Linked DNA regions of Homo sapiens: region 2 is linked to region 1. Evidence: promoter capture Hi-C in human tissues and cell types (Jung and others, 2019). All regions are on one chromosome and are shown on one strand. Each heading gives the region's core, a stretch centred on a gene start or on the middle of the fragment in contact. The rest is flanking DNA. Distances are from core to core; before and after follow the strand shown. Region 1 holds the start of ADAM23 (ADAM metallopeptidase domain 23). Region 2 holds the start of SNORA41 (small nucleolar RNA, H/ACA box 41).

Evidence for each region. Contacts are between HindIII fragments. The study calls those that stand out against the background at their distance.
Region 2: a contact is called between a fragment that was not itself captured here and the fragment with the promoter of ADAM23 in region 1, in 1 of the 25 tissues and cell types used here (hippocampus).

The regions. Positions count from the first base shown.
Region 1 is chr2:206,440,549-206,446,880 of GRCh38, reverse strand. ADAM23 (ADAM metallopeptidase domain 23) reads right to left here and starts at 3,349. Exons shown (of 26, transcript NM_003812.4): 1 at 2,801-3,349; 2 at 1,357-1,574. The coding sequence starts at 3,014. RefSeq lists a silencer at 2,775-2,904. The HindIII fragment of the contact is 14,990 bases long and covers 1-6,332 here.
Region 2 is chr2:206,162,027-206,168,358 of GRCh38, reverse strand. EEF1B2 (eukaryotic translation elongation factor 1 beta 2) reads right to left here. Exons shown (of 6, transcript NM_001959.4): 4 at 6,255-6,321; 5 at 5,745-5,870; 6 at 5,431-5,630. The coding sequence ends at 5,476. SNORA41 (small nucleolar RNA, H/ACA box 41) reads right to left here and starts at 6,131; the gene lies at 6,000-6,131. The HindIII fragment of the contact is 6,047 bases long and covers 550-6,332 here.

The DNA.
Region 1 (6,332 bases), core at 2,100-4,599:
AAAGACAACACCCATTTCTCCTATCAATAAGACAAATGAGTTAGACATGACCTATTAGTCACCCCATTAAGTTATATAGGAGCTTATGGAGAAAAGGGCTGGCTGAGAACAGAGACACATTTATCTCACGGTGGGTAGCAGCCACTTCAAAATAATGTGAAAGAAAGTTCACCTCTCCAGTAATATTCAAGGTGAAGAAAGCACTTTCTCAGAGACCTAACTTGTAAAAAATAGTAAAAATTAAACATTCAGGTCACCTGAATTTTATATTAGCTGCTTTACAACATAGGAAAATCACCCAAAAGCCTTAAATTTCTAGCTCCCCATTTGTAAAATGGGGATAAATACTGTTACCACTCACCTATATTTTAGAAAACTAATAAAAAACAATGATGTAAACTGCAGATACTTTCTTAAATTCTAGATGTTTAGACAGTTAATTGCTAACTGTTGTTCTCACCTGAACAAGTACAGATCAAAATGAAACATTTAACATACAGACTCTATTTTCTGCTCCCGATAAACAACAGAAGAACCGATAATCCATTGTTTAAATCTGCTCGGGGTTCAAAATAATATTAATTCAAGTAAAGAATAGTAACACAGGGAAAAAGATCCCTTAAACTCTTTGGATATTAAACATTTGTCTTCTACTGATACCTTGGTAAATATCAGTTCCACTTTCTGAACTAACCTGAAAGTAAAGCAACTGCTCATAATCAATGCAGAGTAGGTACTGAAGAATTATGCCAATCAAAATTGGTCTTCATATTATGCAAATAATTTGTGTCTAGTCACCATAATCTTTTTAAATGTCAAATTGTTTACCTATTGAAAATACAACAGAAAATTTTTTTTTCCTCCTACTGATCAATTAAAGAAACAGACTGTTTAAACACTCAATTTCTAAGTGGAAAGACTGATGGAGACACTGCAGCCAAATAGCTTCTTGAAGCAATCTTGCATGTGCAGATTGAAAGCAGTTTTTATATCATGGGAGACAGTTTTATATCAAGGCAGAATACTGCACCCTTACATAAAGCCTCACAGAAACAAGTTAGAATCATAAACACATTCACTTAACTACTGTTCAGTGCCCAATGTACCTGAAAGATACATGGATATCATTTCAGGTATCAGAAAATTCTAGTTCCAGTTTAGTCAGAGAAGAGAAACAACAGTCTTATCCCAGTAGATCCCAAGTTAATTCCTTCCAGTTTCTCCCCTATCATAATATTAATTGCTTTCTTAATAAAATGCTGCAGTAAAATTTGTGAACTCAGATTCTGGCAGAAAATCAAATCAAAGGAAAACTCTTCATGATAGTTACTTTTGCATAGCCAGCCTCCTGCCTACCTTATTATGTTTTTGCTGGTGTCTTGCCTTTGTGTCAAGAACGTGATAAGGGCTTTCCGAGTCTTGGTTGATGTAATATATGAGTCTTGAAGGCAGTGTGATTTCTTTCTGCATTGCATTGCTGTAACTGATATTACTGCTGCTATTCTGTTGCAATGTATTGTCTTCATCTGCCAGGACTCCCAAATTTTTTTCTGCAGTTTCATTCCAATGCGGAGCTGGTGGAGGTAGGGGGGTGGGGGAGCAGAAAATACAAACATACACAAACACACACATATTTACCCCATAAATACATAAGCACTAAAATGCATTTTTCCTTTAATTTCAAACACAAAGTTTTCTATTTATAAGCAGTTAAGAAGTAGAGCTAGAGTAAAGCAAGTTATTTCAACAATAAAATGGCCTGGAGAAGTTAATAAATAGCCAATAAGGCTTATACAACTGTGCACTATTTATTTTGATTTATGTCTTATATATACATTTCTAGTCAGACTCAAATCTATACTTCTAAGTGTTGGGGGGGGGGTAGAATGAACTTGAGGGAAGAAGAGTCATTAAATGAACATGTTCAGGGGTCCTGCCCCCGATCTCCACCCCTTCTCTGAGTCCACAGAAGCACAACTCTACTCTGCCTAGTGGCATCCCATCCAAGAGCTAAGAACGCTCCTAAGATAACTTGAGTACTGAATTTATGGATACCGAATATTAATCGACTCTTTTAACAAAATGGACAATTCCCTTCTCTTTTAACTTTAAGATGAGCAAACATACTTTGCCATGTAGGGATACAGATGCTGGCAGCTTCCCAATTTCTTTTTATTTTCCTGACAAAGCCAGCTTTCTGCTTTCAGTGACTTCCAATCATCAATATATAGAAGATGGTATTATATTAATTGTTCATTATAATGACAAGCACTTTGAGAAATCAGAACCAAAGGTCGTGCATGAAGTATGTCTTCAGCACCTTAATTCTTTGGTCCCCGAAGTGTGCCTCCCCCACCTTAATTCCAACCGCACTGAATGCGCCGGATACGAAATTTGAGGAAACAGCCCATTACCACTATTATCACTACATCCTCCCCGCATTCACATTAAGGTTCCACCACGCAAGTAGCAACTTGCTCCCTCGCTGTATTTCCCATCCACTGGTTGCCCCTCCGCAAGTTGCACAGAGATCGCTGAGGGACCCAGGATCCACTAAACACCTCCCAGTGGAACCAACAAGAATTGGAATGGGTTTTTCGCGAATGCAACAGAAATGGACTTCCAAAAGTGAACTGGGATGAATGGGGGTTTGGGAACGAGAAGGGTGGAAAGACAGGCAGGGAGGGAAGGAAAGGCCGAGCCGGGGACAAGCCCGGAGCACACGGACCCGCGCGCCCTTCGCTTTCCTCTGCAGGGCCCCGCGGGAAAGCCAACGCAAAGGGCACGGGGCCATACCCACCGCTGGGCGCAGCAGCCCCCCAGGCGCGGGGCCGGGACGAGGCGGCGAGCGGAGGCAGCAGGAGAAGGACGAGAAGCAGGCGGCAGGGCGGCGTGCGGGCCGGGGCGCTGGCAGGCACCGAGCCGGCGGGGCCGCGTTGGGGGCCGCAGGAAGCGCCGGCAAGGCTGCAGCCCGCCAGGGGCGGCTGCCGCGAGCTGCTGCCGGGCGGCTTCATGGCTCATAGCTCCCGGGCGCCGCTCCGTGTGGCCGGCGAGAGCGCCGGGCTAGCTGCGGGGCGGCCGCGGGCGGAGCCGGTCACGCCGGCTCGGCGCGCATGGTGCCGCGGCGGGCAGGGGGCTCCGGGCTCGGGGCACGGGGCGCGGGGCTCGGGGCTGGGCGGCGCCCCCTTTCCCGGCTCGCCTAGCCTCGCAGCCACTCCCGGGGCGGGACGCAGAGGAGTCCAGGGGTCCTCGCCGCTCCGCCAACTTGGAGCCTCCCCAGCGGCTACTCCCTCCCCCGGCGGGCGCGGCCGCTTCAGCGACTGCGGGGGCTGCCGCCGGGCCTGAGGATGCTGAGGCGGCGCGCGGGAGCGAGCGGCGCGGGGACGCGCGGGAGCGAGCGGCGCGGGGACGCGCGGAGCGGGCGTGCGCCCCGCCCCCCGAGAGCGCGCCCGAGCGGGGCTTCGGGTGCTGATGCTGTTGCTGGATGCTGTGCTGCTGCTGTTGCCTGGCCCGGAACGCACTGCGCATGCTTTGTTGGGGGGCGGGGAAGGGGGTAAAGCAGCAGAGTGATGCAGCAGCCCAAGCAGCATCGGAGGTGACGGGTGGTACCTCAAAAGATGGGGGCGGTGGAGGGGGAGCCGGCAGTCACGGATAAGCCAGAAGAAAGAGAGTACGGGGGTTTCCAGGCCAGAGACAGGGATGATCGGGAGAAAACAACCAGCCGAAGTCCACCTGCCTTTTCCACCACCCCAGACTTCACATACCCTCTCCTATTCCAACCTCTTCCTGCTCTGGATAAACTAAGGCCACGCATCTCCTTCTTAATCCCTTATATATTTGCTTCCTGCATGTAAATATAAAGGATTGCAGCCGGGGAGGTAAAAATAGCGCGGCTCCTCATTCAGATTGCCAGCAGCGGGTGGGACTGCGGCTGAGAAGAGCGTTTGCGCCGCAGGCTGGCGCGGAGTGGCAGGAATCCCCCGCGCAGGGGCGCTCTGCCCCGGCCTGTGTCCTCCCTGCCGGTGCCTGGGGTCTTTGAGGAAAGCACAAGAAGCCGGACGGTGTTTGCTCAAAAGTTCAGAAAGTATGACTGGGCATATTCGGGAAGGACTTCGACATTCTGGCGGGGAAGCAATACAGAGATTAGAAACCAAGTGTGTGGCAGCTATCTTGGGAAATCCGTTGTTTGTCAACCACGGGGATGGGCACACATTTAGGAGGACACATTTCTATTTTTGAGATCCAGTCCTGACTTCTGCAGAGGAAAGGGGAAGTTTTCTCTCGTTGCTGTAAAAAATGTAAATCCCTGACTTCGGTGGGTTCGCAGCCACTAAATCTGATGGCTTCAGATAAGAGTCTGTGGCATATTTCTGCCCCCAAACTCTCATAATGCAAGCATTCATTTATTCACCCTCCCAATGACAATCTGAGTGATAACAATGTTGTCTTACTCCGACATCCACGGGGTGAGGGCTGGGGTGGAGAATTCCATGATTAAAAGAAAGAATGTGGGTATAAAAGTGCCATGGCCATGACAGAACTCAGTGTTAGCCATCATCTTCTCCACTCACACTTAACAAAGAGAAAAGAAGAAGACATATACGCGCGCGCACACACACATTACAAAACTGTTAGGTAAATACTGAGATAACTTCCTTTCTATGTTGAGCTAGGATATTATTATCACATATTTATTCCTGTAAATTTGTAATTGTTGCTACCTCCCCCATGTGAGGGCAACAACAGTTTTCCCTTCTGCACACCATTGTGTCCCTAGGACCTCACACAGTGTCTGAGGCACAGAGAAATCGCTTGGAAAATATGTACTAAATGAATAAAGAAATGGGTGATACACACAAGCAGAAGTCACACTTGGGGCAGGCTAGTGAACACTCTAGCCCCACCGGAGTGCCCACTGCAGGTCAATGTTCTTAGGGTTGTCTCCCTCAAGTCAAGTATTCTCTGGCTAGGTTTTCCAAATTTATATTTGACACAATATGCATCCTGAAAAAGGGCCTGAGAGAAAGCAAGCCAGAAAGGAGATGTACAAGCAATGAGAAGGGAGAGGGAAATGAAAGGTGCAAAGCACCCAGATGCAAGTTACTTGAAAGGCATCTCTTGCAATTCAGTGACAACCTCTTAAAGTCTGTTCTGATAAATAAACCTATCAGCCAACCTGGACTGACCAAACCCACCCACCAGTTACAACACATCATTTCATGCACTTGGGGTATGGAATGAGGATTCAATATAGTTTCTTTTTTTCTTTTTTTTTTTTTTTTTTTGAGATGGTGTCTTGCTGTGTCACCCAGGCTGGAATGCAGTAGTGCGATCTCAGCTCACTGCAACCTCTGCCTCCCAGGTTCAAGCGATTCTCCTGCCTCAGCCTCCCAAGTAGCTGGGATTAGCTGGGATTACAGGCACGTGCCACTACACCCGGCTAATTTTTGTAGTTTTAGTAGAGACGGGGTTTCACCATGTTGGCCAGGCTGTTCTCAAACTCCTGACCTCAGGTGATCCACCCACCTCAGCTTCCCAAAGTGCTGGGATTACAGGCGTGATCCACCGCACCTGGCCTCAATATAGTTTCTAATAAGGGGTTGGGGTATTTACAAAGAGGGATGTTGTCTTATGTACTATAGTCAAAAGACTGCATTTATTTACAGAACTTTAATGGTTACAGACATTGCTAGAGTCAAAATAAGATATCAATAAATGAAATAATGAGTCAGAGAAAGAGTACATTACTTAGAAAAAATTTACTGGAAGTTTAGTCTTTAAGCCATATATTTAAGGGAAGGTTAAAAACAGAATCAAATATTAACTGATTAAATAATTTAATTGGTCAACTTGGTAGAGTTAGTAATATTCTTATTAGGTAGTTCAGAATTTTTATTTTTATAGAGTTTACTTCTAAATATTCCCCTCTGTGCTTTCATAAGATTTAGTGACTTGCTTAATCACTTGCCACCTACTGCTTTGCTCTGTATTCGTGTATGTGCATATCATCATTCTTCCATCAAAAAATACTGAGAGCAAGGCTGTATCTTGGTCATCTCTGACTCCACAGCCTAGTATAGTACCTGGAATCAAATCAGCATTCATAGAGGGGCACTCACAGGTAGGAAACAGAGGGATTCAGCAAGATGGACTGGAATAAAGAAATATACCAGAAGCTTGAGTGCTATAATGGCCCTGGTTACCAATGTGTGTTGGATCCTAAGGCCATCAGAGGATCACTGGAGTGATCTAGTCACAGTGGCAGACATGGAGAAATGCTGCAGTCGTAGGTGAAGGCAGGTGGCCAGAAGGTCCATGGGAAGGAAATTACA
Region 2 (6,332 bases), core at 2,324-4,823, 280 kb after region 1:
CAGCCTGACAATGCAATAGAAAAGAAAATCTCATTTTCTGAGGAGAAATCCAAGCTGGCTGCAGAAATTTGCATAAGTAATGAGGAACCAAATATTAATCACCAAGACAATGGTGAAAAATGTCTCTAGGACATGTCAAAAAAACCTTTGCAGCAGCCCCTCCTATCACAGGCCCAAAGGCCTGGGAGGAAAAAGTGGTTTCATGGGCCGGGCCCAGGGTCCCCGTGCTGTGTGCAACCTAGGGACTTGGTGCACTGCATCCCAGCCACTCCAGCCATGGTTGAAAGGGTCCAGCGTAGAGCTTGGGCCATGGCTTCAGAGGGTTCAAGCCTCAAGCCTTGGCAGCTTCCATGTAGTGTTGAGCCTGTGAGTGGACAGACATCAAGAATTGAGGTTTGAGAACCTCTGCCTAGAACAGTGTTTTAGTGTTTAAGTCTCAATTTACACAAGGTAAAATTTACCCTTATGTGATATTTTCTTATCCCTCACCATATTTTCTTATCACCTCACCTCACCTCATCATATTCATGAGAATATGAAGCAAGGATTACACTGATGAAATAGGATTAAACTGTCTAAAAGCAGGGATGAAGAACCTTCCGTATTCTGTTACCAACACATCAACTGGCCTATGAAGACCCTGGCTTGTGTTCCTCCTCTGTCACTTACTAGTGACTTAGTATATTTACTGAATAATCATGGACAAATAAGCATATCTTTTCATAGTAATAGTCCATGAAATATCAAGCATTTCTCAATGTTGCTATAGACTTACTTTTAAAAACAAAGTTTAGGCTGGGCGTGGTGGCTCACGCCTGTAATCCCAGCACTTTGGGAGGCCGAGATGGGCAGATCACTTGAGGTTAGGAGTTCAAGACCAGCCTGGCCAACATGGCAAAACTTCATCTCTACTAAAAATACAAAAATTAGCCGGGCATTGTGGCGCACACAAGTAATCCCAGCTACTTGGGAGGCTGAGGCAGGGGAATCGCTTGAACCTGGGAGGTGGAGGTTGCAATGAGCCAACATCGCACCACGGCACGCCAGCCTGGGCAATAGAGCGAGACTCCATCTCAAAAAAATAAATAAAGTTTATAAAACATTTCATTGAATACATATGCCATAATTTAGACATTTCCATCTGTGAGGATTATAAGTCATCTGATCTCCTTGCTTTCATTCGTATCACCTCCAGATCAAAGCTGTCTTAACATTAATATTCTCTGGTTTGGAAACCTCATATAATGTGCCAGCCTGTAATTCAAATATGTCTACAGGCTGGCCCCATCCTATCTAAGATTCCAAACACACACTGCAAAATCTCACGAATTTGTCTAATTGCTTCCCAAATCTTTATATCTGATTCTTCCAAAAAACTTGTCATCAATTCTAGCCGTCTCTGACCTTCTGAACTTTTAGATTATTTGCTTAATCCCCAAACCAATGACTTTTATTTTTAACAATTTTATGTTTGAATTGCCTCCCTATACTAATTTTCTCTTCTTCTGTGTTTTTTTGTTTCATCTAACAAAGTGATACGGAAGGAATCAGTTTTGAGTTCCCACACTGCCCAGCCCTCTGCTAGGGATGCCGAACATGAAAAATATTGTTTCAGGCTGGACACGTTGGCTCATACCTGTAATCCCAGTACCTTGGAAGGCCAAGGTGGAAGGATCACTTGAGTCCAGGAGTTCAAAGCCTGGGCATCATAGCAAGACCCCATCTCTAAAAAAATTTTTTTAAATTAGCTGGGTATGGTGGCACATGCCTGTAGTCCCAGCTACTCAGTAGGCTGAGGTAGAATTGCTTAAGCCTAGGAGTTCAAGGCTGCAGTGAGCCGTGATCATGCCACTGCACTCCAGCCTGGATGATAGATTGAGACCCTGTCTCAAAAAAAAAAAAAAAAAGAAAAGAAAAACTTTCATAGTCATTATAATCATTTATGGGGCATGCAAAAAAAAAAAAAGTGGGCTCTTTTTTATCTTTGCTTCCTTCTACTCTAAAGCCAGAAACAGGAAAAAAAAAAATCTCTTTGGAAACCAGTGCCTTCTGAGACTATTTGTTTAAAACAAGTTCATGAGCCAGGCGCAGCAGCTCACGCCTGTAATCCCAGCACTTTGGGAGGCTGAGGAGGGGGTATCACAAGGTCAGGAGTTTGAGACCAGCCTGGCCAACATGGTGAAACCCCATCAAACTAAAAATACAAAAAATTAGCTGGGCATAGCGGCAGGCACCTGTAATCCCAGCTACTTGGGAGGCTGAGGCAGGAGAATCGCTTGAACCCGGGAGGCAGAGGTTGCAGGGAGCTGAGATCGCACCACTGCACTCCAGCCCAGGCAACAGAGTGAGACTCCACCTCAAAAAAACAAAACAAAACAAAACAAACCAGTTCATTCAATATATTGGCTCTCAAGAAAATGAGTACCAGGGTTTTCTACTGCAGCACTGCCCATAATAACAAAACATTAAAAGCAACCTAAGAATCCAGTCAACAGGAGACTGTCTAAATGAACTATGAGAAAATGAATTATGAAATGAGAACATGAATTATGCATCTATTAAATAAGGATGTACTAATAATGGGATATCCAAGGCATAATCTCCAAGGTGTTCATTTTTTTTTTTTTTTTTTGTATTTTTAGTAGAGACAGGGTTTCACCATGTTGGCCAGGCTGGTCTCAAACTCCTGACCTCGTGATCCCCCACCTCTGGGATTACAGGTATGAGCCACCGCGCCTGGCTCTTTTTTTTTTTTTTTTGAGACAGAATGCAGTGGTACAATCTCAGCTCACTGCAATCTCCGCCTCCCGGGTTCAGGCGATTCTCCTGCCTCAGCCTCCCAAGTGGCTGGGACTACAGTCGTGCGCCACCACGGCCAGCTAATTTTTGTATTTTTAATAGACACAGGGTTTCACCATGTTGGCCAGGATTGTCTGGATCTCTTGACCTTGTGATCTGCCCACCTAGGCCTCCCAAAGTGTTGGGATTACAGGCGTGAGCCACCACACCCGGCCCCAAGGTGTTCATTTTCAAAAGGAAAATGCAAGGTGCAAAAGTCTATGTGGTGTGTTACAATTAGTCTATGCATAAGCTTACAGTGGCTCTGCAAAGACCTAAGAACCTGTTAACACTGCTTTGATGGAGCGGAACTGGAGGCCTAGGGGACAGGAGAGACTTCATTGTACATACTCTTGAGTTTTGAACTGTTGGTATATTATCTTTTTTTTTTTCTTTTGAGATGGAGTCTCACTTTTGTCGCCCAGGCTGGAGTGCAGTGGCGTGATCTCAGCTCACTGCAACCTCTGCCTCCCGGGTTCAAGCAATTCTCCTGCCTCAGCCTCCCAAGTAGCTGGGACTACAGGCGCATGCCACCACACCTGGCTAATTTTTTGTATTTTTAGTAGAGACAGGGTTTCACTGTGTTAGCCAGGATGGTCTAGATCGCCTGACCTCATGATCCAGCTGCCTCGGCCTCCCAAAGTGCTGGGAATACAGGTGTGAGACACCACATCCGGCCATGTGTTTTTTAAAATATGAAGTTAAAAGATACCATCAAAATATTTTTTATTCAAGGGTGTAGAATCAAGATTTCAAAATGGTATGCCTCATCATTCATCACTGTAGGATTCTGAAGACATCTGTGGTTTGAATTGACCATTCTAAATTTTTGACCACCTTTAAACTAATTATTAATCATTAGTTTTCTCATCATAAACTTCTGCTGATAGTTAACATTTTGGCCAAGCTATTTGGAACTCAACCCCTTCACCATGTCAATAATTGCAAATTTTTATTACCATTCACCGAAGTTTATTCATGGTTTTGGTTTTTTGTTTTTTGTGTTTCTTTTGGCATTTTCATTATTCCCAAACTCTCTGGTTTTCCAGAAAATGTAGTGCTGCCCTCTGCTGGCTCTTATGATAATGACAACCTGAAAATGTCTCCCATGACTTTTAGGCTGTTGGATTATAAACATTGCTTAGAGATATTATTCAATGTATCTATCTGTTAAATAAATCTTCCTTATAATATAGTTTCCCACAGTCAAGGCAGTCACAACATAAAATCAGATGGAGAAGAAATAGCACTGTATAGTTCTATTAAAAAATTGACCTAGGGGCTGGGCATTGTGGCTTATGCCTATAATCCCAGCACTTTGGGAGGCCAAGGTGGGTGGATCACCTGAGGTCAGGAGCTCGAGACCAGCCTGACCAAAATGGTGAAGCCCCGTATGTACTAAAAATAGAAAAATTAGCCAGGCATGGTGGCGCATGCCTGTAATCCCAGCTACTCAGGGGGCTGAGGCAGGAGAATTGCTTGAACCTGGGAGGCCGAGGTTGCAGTGAGCTGAGATCACACCACTGCACTCTAGCCCAGGCAACAGAGTGAGACTCCATCTCAAAAAAAAAAAAAAAAAAAAAATTGACCTAAAATTTTTTGATCATTTGAGATCAGCAATTCCCAAGCACTGCTTTTGTAAAACTACTATTTAAAAAAATGTATCAAATGTTAGCCAGACCCCAAATTCCCTGTTAAGATTAAACGGTTTCCAATACTTGACCATCTCTTCACTCAACATACTACCCTCATCCCAGTATTTACCTGCAGCATGAGAACCAATCAGATTTCCAAATCCAAGTAAAATATTCCGCCTCTACAACCCAGCACCTATGAATCTTCACAGCAAAGTCAAGTTTTTCTGGGAAGCCTGGGAACCAGTTACCTATATAATCCCCCTCCCAGGACACAGTGCTACTCCAAATCACATTCCCAACACTTAAAAGATGGTTTCTTTACATCATGAGTCATTATTTTAAATTTGTAACCTGTTAAGTAGTTGTAAGTCATGCCAAATTCTGGGAAGCCCTCCCTCCTCTGGGTTAGGTGTCTTCTAGCAGTGTCACACATCTCACATCAAGTTCCCAGTGCAAAGATGCTAGGTTACAACAAATCACATCATCAGGCACTGCTAAGGACATCACAAGTGGGTAAAGTTGCACTACAATTTTTTTTCTTTTGACAGGACCTTGCTCTGGCACCCAGGCTGGAGTGCAGTCGCACAACCTTGGCTCACTGCAGTTTCAACCTCCTGGGTTCAAGAAATCCTCCCACCTCAGTCTCCCAAATAGCTGGGAATACAGGGGTGCACTACCATGTCCAGCTAATTTTTATATTTTTTGTAGAGACAGGATCTCTCCCCATTGCCCAGGCTGGTATCAGCCTCCTGGTCTCGATCCAGCCACTTCAGCCTCCCAAACTGCTGGGATTACAGGCATGAACCACCACACCTGGCCTGCACTGCAATTTTCTAACAACAATGCCAAACCAAATTTGGGGTATTTAGGAATCACATATTCATTTAATTCCTTCCCCCAAAATGAAAGGAATATATACACCACCCTCCTATGTAACATACTCAAGAGCCAAAGGTAATCTTTCAATCTTTTATTTAAATGCCATGATCCAGGATGGATTTTAGATCTTGTTGAAAGCAGCCACATCCATGGACTGCACATAGTCCTCAAAAGCAGTGATCTGCTCCTCCAGCATATCTGTTCCAACTTTATCATCTTCAACTACACACTGTATTTGAAGTTTCTTAATTCCGTATCCCACTGGAACTAGTTTAGCTAAAAAGAGCATTAAGAAAAATCCTAGTTAGAAAAGTCTTGTAGGAAAGGTTGAAACTGTAGGCAAATTCCAGATGTTAGTTTCAAAAAAAAAAAGGCAAAGCCTAAACTCACATGAGCCCCAGACTAAGCCGTCTGCTTGAATGCTTCTGACGCACTCCTCTAATTTCGCCATATCTGTCTCATCATCCCAAGGTTTCACATCTAGTAAGATGGAAGACTTGGCAACAAGTGCAGGTTCTAAAAACAATAAACAGCATTATTCAAATAATGAATTGTATTTTTTTCACCCTACTCCAAGACACAAACAAATCCATCTCAATTTGTTTTGAGACTATCTCCTTAGCCAAACAAAACTACAGATACATCTTGTGTCTGTCACACATATATACCCACTTTCTGTTTTGCTAAGAAAGAGGTGTTTGTGTTAACAGTTTCTTTCCCACAGAGGAATGCCACAACTGCTACCATAAGAACAGCTGCAGACCAGTAGCTGTGGAAGAACCTGTACAGGTTTTAAAATATTGACCTATTCAAGGAATGTGGAGGAAATTACTTCAAGGTCAAGCTTTGAAAAAGATTACTTACATTAACATGAAATGAAGTTAAAAACAAATGACCTACTTTTGGCTTTCTTTGATTCATATTGTGCAAGACGTTCTTCCCTTAGCCTCTTTGCTTCTTCACTTTCCTGTAAAGAAA